3 separate regions of the Homo sapiens genome follow, and all the other regions are linked to region 3. The links are contacts of gene promoters, found by promoter capture Hi-C in blood cells and fetal thymus (Javierre and others, 2016). All regions are on one chromosome and are shown on one strand. The core of a region is centred on a gene start or on the middle of the fragment in contact, and the rest is flanking DNA. Distances in the headings are between cores, read along the strand shown.

The links. The method cuts DNA at HindIII sites, captures the fragments that hold promoters and counts their contacts. A CHiCAGO score of 5 or more calls a contact.
Region 1: a contact is called between a fragment that was not itself captured here and the fragment with the promoter of PRG2 in region 3, in 1 of 17 cell types (M1 macrophages). The highest score is 6.6, in M1 macrophages.
Region 2: a contact is called between a fragment that was not itself captured here and the fragment with the promoter of PRG2 in region 3, in 1 of 17 cell types (neutrophils). The highest score is 5.7, in neutrophils.

The regions. Positions count from the first base shown.
Region 1 is chr11:57,557,045-57,559,544 of GRCh38, reverse strand. All of the region lies in intron 2 of UBE2L6 (ubiquitin conjugating enzyme E2 L6), which reads left to right. Among named protein-coding and RNA genes, the nearest start is that of UBE2L6, 9.4 kb to the left of the region's middle. The HindIII fragment of the contact is 1,153 bases long and covers 674-1,826 here.
Region 2 is chr11:57,624,053-57,627,902 of GRCh38, reverse strand. No RefSeq gene overlaps it. Among named protein-coding and RNA genes, the nearest start is that of MIR130AHG, 12 kb to the left of the region's middle. The HindIII fragment of the contact is 8,519 bases long and covers 1-3,850 here.
Region 3 is chr11:57,388,842-57,392,816 of GRCh38, reverse strand. It overlaps PRG2 (proteoglycan 2, pro eosinophil major basic protein), which reads left to right and starts at 2,167. Exons shown (of 6, transcript NM_002728.6): 1 at 2,167-2,221; 2 at 2,861-2,930; 3 at 3,500-3,807. The coding sequence starts at 2,873. The HindIII fragment of the contact is 2,611 bases long and covers 1,194-3,804 here.

The DNA of each region.
Region 1 (2,500 bases), core at 1-2,500, 170 kb before region 3:
TCCACTCTGGGGTTCAAGCGATTCTCCTGCCTCAGCCTCCTGAGTAGCTGTGACTACAGGCACGTGCCACTATGCCTGGCTAATTTTTGTGTTTTTAGTGGAGACAGGATTTTGCTATGTTGGCCAGGCTGGTCTCAAACTCCTGGCCTCAAGTGATCTGCCCACCTCGGCCTCCTAAAGTGCTGGGATTACAGGTGGAGCCACCACACCCGGCAGGATTTACTTTTTATTGACAATGCAGTGGCCTAGGTTGTGTCGTCTTCTCTTTAAACTGACCTATAGTCCAGAAAAGTAGAGAAAGGCCTGAGTCAGGTCAACATGGGAACCTCTGTCAAGTCCCTTGGGTTACTGTGTTGAAACGATCCACTTACCTGGCTTAGAGTGAGGACACCTGTTCTAGGCCTCAGGTGCCGGGAGAAGATGCTCAAAGGAGCTCCAGGGACTGATTATATCTCCAAGGAGACCAACTTTGAGATGATGAAAGCAGGGGTGATAGGAAAACCTAGGAAAGGTCTCGTTTGGCAGAGTACTATGAAATCAGAGGACCTCAATAGTTGGCAAGACCAAGGTGGTTAAGTGCGCCCCAGGAACTGGCCACAGACCTTCCAGCCATATAGGAGTCCTGAAGAAACATGATACTTGGGAGGAATCCCAGAGCTGGAGGACCAAAGCTTGATGTAAGTCATCAGCTAAGGGGGCCTGAAGGTGCCTGGTGAGGCCATAAAGGAGGGGATGGTTGACTGGCAGAGGAAGGAGAACCAGGAAAGGTCTTTTGGAATAGCACACAAATTCCTCCTCAAAGGCTCAGTCTCAGTTTATGTGTTCACCAAAGTGGCCCCACTTGTCACATCTTGGTCATGGAAGGATTCAGCTCGATGAGTCTTTCGAAGCTAATAGTAAAATTCTCATTCCTTGAGAGTTTCCTGTGGACCAAGTGCTGTTTTAAGCACACGACATATGAGGTCATATTGAATCCTCTCAACCATCCAGTGAGGAAGGTTGTCTTCCTCTTAAAATTGCAGAGATGGAAACCAAGGAGGTTAAGTAACTGGTCTGGGGTCACTCAGAATAAGGTGGCAGGAGTGGAATTCAGCGGACTCCAGGGTCTTCTCTTTTAACCACTCCATGAAAAATGAATAGTTTTCAAAATTTTTTAAAAAGTAGCAGGCCGGGCACGGTGGCTTACACCTGTAATCCCAGCACTTTGAGAGGCTGAGGTGGGTGGATCACTGGAGGTCAGAAGTTTGAGACCAGCCTGGCCAACATGGTGAAACCCTGTCTCTAGTAAAAATACAAAAATTAGCTGGGCATGGTTGTGGGCACCTATAATCCCAGCTACTCAGGAGGCTGAGGCACGAGAATCACTTGAACCCGGGAGTTGGAGGTTGTAGTGAGCTGAGATTGGGCCATCGCACTCCAGCCTGGATGACAAGAGCAAAACTCTGTCTCAAAAAAACAAAACAAAATAAAGTAGCAAAATCCTTTATTTAACCTAGAACTTAGAAGGTAGTGGGACTTTCTCAACTGACTGTAAGATACAGCATGGAATCCTCTGGTCCAGCTTCTCCATTTTACAGACGAGGAAACTGATCCTCAGAGAAAGCTCAGTCATACAGCAAGCCCGAGGCAGAGCTGGGACAGGTCCCCGGAGCTCTCAGCTCCATGACTCTGCTACCTCCTTCCTCTGTTAAGTCCTACGAAGCCCAGAAAGAAGCCCCTTCAGGCAGGACACACTGATACCCCTGTCTTAGTCCATTAGTGTTGCTGTAAAGGAATACCCGAGGCTGAGTAATATATAAAGAAAAGAGGTTAATTTGGCTCAAGCTTCTGCAGGCTGTACAAGAAGCATGGCGCTGGGCATGGTGGCTCACGTCTATAATCCCATGTCTTTGGGAGGCCGAGGAGGGCGGATCACCTGAGGTCAGAAGTTCAAGACCAGCCTGACCAACATGGAGAAACCCTGTCTCTACCAAAAATACAAAATTAGCTGGGTGTGGTGGTGCATGCCTATAATCCCAACTAGTTGGGAGGCTGAGGCAGGAGAATCGCTTGAACCTAGGAGGCAGAGGTTGCGGTGAGCCGAGATCACGCCATTGCACTCCAGCCTGGGCAGCAAAGTGAAACTCCATCTCAAAAAAAAAAAAAAAAAGAAGCATGGCACCAGCATCTCCTTCTGATGAGGCCTCAGGAAGCTTCCACTCATGGTGGAAGGCAAAGGGGAGCCACGTGTACAGATCACATGCAAGAGAAGAAGTGAAAGAGAGAGAGAGCGAGCAGGTGCCAGGATCTTCTAAACAACCAGCTTTTTCAGTAAGTAATAGAGTAAGAACTCTCTTATGACTGTGAGGTTGGCACGGAGCCATTCCACGGAGCCATTCGTGGGAGGTCTGCCCCCAGGACCCATACGCCTCCTGGTAGGCCCCACCTCCAACATTGGGGATCAAATTCTTTTCTTTTCTTTCCTTTTTTTTTTTTTTGGTGACAGAGTCTCACTCTGGAG
Region 2 (3,850 bases), core at 832-3,331, 240 kb before region 3:
TGTTAAGCCTGTAAAACTGTGAGTCAATTAAACCTCTTTTCTTCATAAATTACCGAGTCTTATGTAGTTCTTTATGGCAATGTGAGAATGGACTAATACAGGTATACATCTCAAGGGGATCGTGAACCCTCTGGAGTTCATTCACATACCACTGCCCCCAACACACGCTCTAATCTCCTCCAGGTCAGAACTTCTTCAAGAGGATACATTCCAAACTTCTTAGCATGGAACTCAAGGCCTTCCAAACTTATTCCGAGTTGCCTGTCTAGCTGCACCTACCACCTGTGCTGTTATGATTATTTTGTGTCTAATTCCTCATCAGACCAAGATGCTCCCTGAGAGCAGAGATTGTGCCCTTTCATTTTTCCTTTTTACATTTCCCCAGATCAAATGAAAGTTTCTCAGGAGGAGTAATCTGAACCCTTGGCCTAGCTAGAAAAATCGTTGATTGACTGCTAGACATGACTAATTTCCAGCCAGCCAGAGGGTTTTAGGGTCATGAGCCTAGTGAATATAACTACAATGTTCTATTCTCCAAATATATTTGGGGAGAGCTTTGATTCAAAATTTTCAGTTTTAGCGGATCCCATAAATATGGAGACTTCTGAGACCTTGTGCCATGATTTTAGTTTAGAAAATGTAGGTCCTCAGTGGTGAACTTACCACATTTGCCAGTTAATTAGTGCCAGGGATCTCTTTTTGGTAGCTACAGCTCTTTGGACCCTGGAGAAACTGAAAGAACTAGTCTGGTTTGTGGATTCTTAGGAGAATTTACTGATTTCATAATGTAGCCCTGACCTAATCCCAAACCCCAAGATAAGCCAGGGCAGGACTGTCTCCCACATTACTCCAAAGTGGACATTCTAAGGAAATCTTAGGCAAGAGAAAATCAGTCTTCCACGGCCACATTTCAAAATTTTCCCCACATTTCAATTGTTTTCCCACATCCCCTACACACACTGGGACACTTCATATCACATGGAGAGAAGTGAAGGGAGACATTACCAGTCCATTAAAGTTCAGAGAACAAGAGCTCTGTCTTGTTGAACAGTTTGTCCGCTGCCACAACAGTGCCTAGCACAAGTAAGTACTCAATTAAAACTTGAATAAATGAATGGGAAAATGGCAGAAGTCCTGACCTCAGAGGATCCACCCGCCTTGGCCTCCCAAAGTGCTGGGATTACAGGTGTGAGCCACCACACCTGGCCTCTTAAAAAAAAAAAATAGGACTTTAGGAGGCTGAGGCGTGCGGATCATAAGGTTAGGAGTTCGAGACCAGCCTGGCCAATATGGTGAAACCCCGTCTCTACTAAAAATACGAAAATTAGCTGGGCGTGGTGGTGGGCGCCTGTAGTCCCAGCTATTCGGGAGGCTGAGGCAAGAGAATTGCTTGAATCCAGGAGGCGGAGGTTGCAGTGAGCCGAGATCGCAACACTGCACTCCAACCTGGGCGACAGAGCAAGATTCCATCTCAAAAAAAAAAAAATTAAAATAGCTGGGCATGGTGGTGCGGGCCTGTGGTCCCAGCTACTCAGGAAGCTGAGGTGGGACCTGAGCTTGAGCCCAGGACCTCAAGGCTGCAGTGATCTATGATTGAGGCAGGAGAATAGGGCCTGGAGGCAGAGAACCTAAGGACTTTCTAGAACTAAATCAAATGGAAACACTTCAGCTGTGACAGGAAATATCCTCTTGTTTACATAGGGTGTACACAGAGTAAATGACTTTGTAACTTTCCTTCATCCTCTTCATTTACATAAGGCGTACACCAAGTAACCAATGGAAACCTCGGCTCACTGCAACCTTGGCCTCCCAGGTTCTAGCGATTCTCCTGCTTCAGCCTCTTGAGTAGCTGGGATTACAGGTGTGCACCACCACACCTGACTAATATTTGTATTTTTAGTAGGGATGGGCTTTCTCCATGTTGGCCAGGCTGGTCTTGAACACATGACCTCAGGTGATCCACCCGCCTTGGCCTCCCAAAGTTCTGGGATTACAGGCGTGAGCCACCGCACCTGGCCAGTAGATAATATGTATAAATTAGTGGAAAGCAAGAAGGCCTCTAGGACGATAACAAAGTATAGATTCTCTTTAGACGGCCTATTTGAGTAGATAAGGCAATTCACAGGGCTGTGGCCTTGTTTAATCCTAGAACAATTCCAGACTCCAGGTGCTTACTTACTTAAAGGGTAAGAATCATCTTCACCCCTTCTGACTAAAGCCATGGAGTCCTGATCCCAAGAATCAAAGACACGGGGCAGCAGGGAGGAGGAAAGAACATCCAAACACAGAGGTATAATTCCTCTAGTTGAAAGATAATTTGTAAGGCAAAACCCTAGCTGATAATGACTATGAGAAGCTATGCTTTGGTATTCCTAGCTCCACCAGTCTCCAGAGGAGATACATAAAATAAGAATAACATTAATGTCATCATTGTAAAATAAAAAACTTTGCTTGGCCATGTGCGGTGGCTCACACTTGTAATCCCAGCACTTTGGGAGGCTGAGGCGGGTGGATCATCTGAGGTCAGGAGTTTGAGAGCAGCCTGGCCAACGTAGTGAAACCCCATCTCTACTAAAAATACAAAAAATTAGCCGGGCATGGTGGCAGGTGCCTGTAATCCCAGCTACTTGGGAGGCAGAGGCAGGAGAATTGCTTGAACCCAGGAGGCGGAGCTTGCAGTGAGCCAAGATTGTGCCAACTCCAGCCTGGGCAACAAGTGCAAAACTTTGTCTCTAAACAAAACGAAACAAAACAAAACAAAACTTTGCTCAAATATAGACACTGCACACTTTGAATCAAAAGTGTTTGCTGACCATTTATAGGCATAGGTGGGACCAGAGATGTCCTGAATCAGATTCACAAGGAGTTTCCTAGTGGTTGGAGGGGAAAGCCAAATATTTGTGTACATGCTACTGATTTTACATGGCAGTGTAAGTTCAGCACTATGTCTAAAGATGGAGGAGGTGCTATTGGCTGGGAAAAGCAGAAAACACTGTTGGAGAATTGCACTGGGCTTAGAAGAATGGCAGCATTTAAATGAACAGGATCTGTAGAGACCAGGCTGGTGGCTCATGCCTGTAATCCCAGCACTTTGGGAGGCCAAGGCGGGCAGATCACTTGAGGTCAGGAGTTCGAGACCAGCCTGGCCAACGTGGTGAAACCCTGTCTCTACTAAAAATGCAAAAATTAGTCGGGCGTGGTGGCGTGTGCCTCTAATCCCAGCTACTTGGGAGGCTGAGGCAAGAGAATCACTTGAACCCAGGAGGCCAGAGGTTGCAGTGAGCTAAGATCGTGCCACTGCACTCCAGTCTGGGCAACAGAGCGAAACTCTGTCTCAATAAATAAATAAATAAATAAATAAATAAATAAATAGGATCTGGAAATGCATTTTTGTTCTGTTTTGTTTTGCTTCATTTTATTTTAGCTAATATGTACTGAGTGTCAACTCTGTAGGTTCCAGGCTCCATGCTCAGAACAGAGGATAATGACAAAAAGATACGGTCCCTGCCTCCTAGGAGATTTTAAAAATTATTTCAGCAAGAGGGCAAGTGTTCTAGTGAGGTTCACTCTGGGCCCCAGAGGAATCGCCAGGAAACTCAGTTCTGATGAAGCAGAGCTAGATGGCCAGGGACTGGGGCTCCAGGCCTGACAGTCTGGCTGTAGCAGCAGAGTAGGAATCGGCTCTGATGCTGCTCCCTGAAGCCAGCCGGCAGACAGGCTCACTGTGACCATGACCACACCATCGTGGTCCATGGACAGGAACCATCCTCACCCTGGTGGTCCTGTTGCCATGCATTTTCTGCTAAGCCCCTAACCCATAGCCCTTGGGAATGGTATTTGGTCTACTATA
Region 3 (3,975 bases), core at 918-3,417:
CCTTCTAATTGCATCTTTCCATCCAGGTAGGAATCAGCTCCTTGGTTCATGGAGCCTTTTCTGCTCTGTTTTACTATGCATGGACTTCCTTCTGAATTAGCAGAGGATGTTTCCTAGCTTGGTCTTAACCCTTCTCCTTTTGTTTGACCTCAATTTACTCATCTTACAAATTAGGTTGTAAGCTAATTGAATACAGGATCTATGCTTCACTCTGATTTTATCTCCACCTGGATAGCATCATTTTTGACACACAAGCAGGCATATGGGAGGGGAGAGAAGTTTGGTGCCAGAAAGAACTGGATTTGAATTCTAACCCTGTTGTTTACGTGAGTACGTTACTTAACCATTAATTACTTCAATGTATATTTATTAAGTACCTACTATGTGCCGGGCACTGTACTAAGCACCAAGGATACAATGGTGAGTAAAGAGATGCAGCCTTCACCATCACGAAGGAAGACAGATGTTAATCCATTAACCAAGTAATCTCACAAGAAAAGTAAAATGACTAACTGATAAGGACAAGCCCCTGGAGCTACAAGAGGGTGTATACAGGGCATCGATCCAATAAGGGCAGTGTTGCGGGGAGATCAGGAGCCACACAGAGCCTGGGTTGTCTCACTTGGAAAATGGGGTATCAACCACCTACCTCACTAGGTTTTTAAAATCAGGTTAAATGAGGTAATACTTGCCATGAACAGTATTTTGTTGATTGATGATTGATTGAAACGGAGTCTCACTCTCTCGCCCAAGCTGGAGTGCAGTGGTGCAATCTCAGCTCACTGCAACCTCTACTTCCTGGGTTCAAGTGATTCTCCTGCCTCAGACTCCCAAGTAGCTGGGATTACAGGCAGCCACCCCTATGCCTGACTAATTTTTGTATTTTTAGTAGAGACAAGGCTTTGCAATGTTGACCAGGCTGGTCTCAACCTCCTGACCTCAAAAGATCCACCCACCTCAGCCTCCCAAAGTGCTGGGATCACAGGCATGAGCCACTGCATCCAGCCACTTGCCATGCATGGCATTTAAAAATGTTCAGTAAATGTTACCATAATGAAGGCTGGTAGGTTGGCCAACTGAGTGGTCTGATTCAGAAGGAAAGAAGTTAGACATACGTGAACATTTCCTGTACTTGAAGATCCTCAGGACAGTGACTCCTAGACCCATCTTCCATCACAGTCAGCTGGGAAGCTTTTAAAAAAATGCAGACATCTGACCTTCACGCTAGACCTATTAGCCAAGCAGAAGTTTCTGGGCAGGGCATCTGCATATTTTTAAAAATCTTTAATAAGGCAGCCTCAAAATTACAGATTCAGCACGCATTTACCATAACCACTGAAGAAATGCAAAGTTATAAAAAGAAGATAAACAACAATCTGTCTCCTGCTTTCTTCCCTCTCCTCCCCTGCTTCTGGAGGCAACAAGGTCAACTATTTGGTGTGATTCCTTTTAGCATTCCCTCCATCAATGGTCACATAAGGATGCTCACAGATAAGCACCTATGCGGGGGTTTTTTTTTTCCTTGTAAAACTATTCACATACTAAATACTTTCCTCAGTATCTTGCCTTTTTTCACTTCATGTCACAGAAACATCTCTTCAGGTTTATAGATACAGGTCCAGCTCTTCTTTTCATAGCCATATAACATTCTGTAGAATAGAGAGGACACATTTTACTCAGTGTCCGATTGATGGATATCAATATTGTTTTCATTTCTACAAATAGTCAAGGAATAACATAACTCTGTAAAAGTTTTATTACTTATAGGCGCATTTATGCCTAAAGGATAGTCTCAAAAGAGTGAAACTGATCAAATGTGCATTTTTTTATTTTAATAGGTATGGACAGATTTGTTCTCAAAATGTTTGTGGCAGTTCAAAACACCAGTAAAACAGGGGAGATATGTATTTTGGAAAAGCACCCAAGGCGATTCTGAAGTGTAGCCCAGGATAAGAACCATTGCCCAGAGCTGTTCCAGATGGCCCCTGGGTTCCTGAAGTGGGTATCGGGAGAGAAATCTTCACTGAATGAATGAGTGGGCTCCCCAGGGAAGTGATGAAATGGTCCTTATCAGCCTTGCTATCTCCCTCTGACAGAGGCAAACTCTCTCTCCCTGGGGGAAGTTCCTCCAAGGCCTCTATATAAGAAGTCTTTGTGAGAGGAAGCAAAGAAGGACCTGGGCTTTGGGAAGATCTAAAGACCCAGGAAGGTCTCTGGGTGGGTGAGTGCTTTCTCTGCTGTGGTGGAGCTGGTGACAGTTTATTCTCCCAGGAGGTCCCTGGCTGTGGCTGACAGTTTCTGGAGGGCTGGCAGGCGTCTACCTGTGGCTTTCAGGTTATGAGGATGTCAGCAGGGGCAGCCTTCATCCTCTGCCTTGCACATTCCTTCTGCGGGATGTGAAAGTGCTCCTTGGCTGGGGAAAGGAGATGGTGGAGACATGGAGGAGGGTGTGGGTGGCTTCTTGAACTCTGAGGAGGGGACATACCTTCTAAGTCCTATGTGTTCCTAGGAAAGCCAATAATCATTGCTTCTCCCGCCTTTTTTATGTCATAGACTCTGAGGGACCCATTAAGTACAAACAAATAAGCGTAATAGTCCCTTCTTTACTTCCGGGCCTGAAGGAAAGCCAGCCTCAGCCACCCCTCAGGGTTTGCTGCGTTCTGTTTAGAAAGAGGTCCTTGCGTCCTGGATCCTGGAGCATCAGGAGCTGGGCTTGGCATGAGCTTTTCTGGCCCATCCTGATTTCTATTCAGGCCTTCTTTTTCTCCACCTCACTCCCACGGTCCCCTAATGGTGTGATTGTGATGTGTGTGCATGTGTGTCTGTGTGTGTCAATGACAAACTGTGTTCTCCGTTGCAGGATAAAGCCAAGATGAAACTCCCCTTACTTCTGGCTCTTCTATTTGGGGCAGTTTCTGCTCTTCATCTAAGTAAGTGTTTTTTGCCTTCAGTCTTTCTTTCTCTGTTTTTTCCCTTTCTATGGTAGATGGGGTCAGAGTTACACACCCACCCCCTTCTTTGATCGTCTTCTATTTCTGAATTTCTGTGTGCTTAAAGGGATGGGGACTCTATGGCCAGGAGTTGAAAGGATTTCTCAAGGCGTCTGTTATGTCTGTGGTCTTGGTTCTACTGTGACATTCCCAATTTTGTCCTTTCTCCATTATGCTTACTTTGAGCTTACTGAGTGCCTTCTCTCCTTTAACTCTCTTAGCATCGCCATGAAGTAGGTGGTATTGTATACCCATTTCACAGAAATACAGCTGGTGGATGATGGAACCAGTACCCAAGCCCATGACTGCCCGACTCTAAGTCCATGCTCTTAACCACCTTGACCTTGTCAGGCAGCTTGGGTTCCCCTCATAGAGACTGGGTTCCAGGTTCCCCTTCCCAGGCAGAGTTGAGCACTCTGATGCCCAGGGCAAGGTGTGAGCTGTCTGTGGTTCTGGGGAGGAACAAGGGGAGATGTGAAGGAAGGACACTTAGCTATCCTCCCTGCCAGGGTCTGAGACTTCCACCTTTGAGACCCCTTTGGGTGCTAAGACGCTGCCTGAGGATGAGGAGACACCAGAGCAGGAGATGGAGGAGACCCCTTGCAGGGAGCTGGAGGAAGAGGAGGAGTGGGGCTCTGGAAGTGAAGATGCCTCCAAGAAAGATGGGGCTGTTGAGTCTATCTCAGTGCCAGATATGGTGGACAAAAACCTTACGTGTCCTGAGGAAGAGGACACAGTAAAAGTGGTGGGCATCCCTGGGTGCCAGACCTGCCGCTACCTCCTGGTGAGAAGTCTTCAGACGTTTAGTCAAGCTTGGGTGAGTGGCCTATGGCTGAGGCTGAGGTGGGAGCATGGAACGGGTGTGGGATATGCCCCCAGCATTGCTATCACTGGCTCTTTTTCCCATTGAGGGCCCTGGGGGTGTCAGTAGAACCTGAGCCTCAGAGAGGTGTTGGGGTAAGAGGGGAGGGCCACCTACAAACAG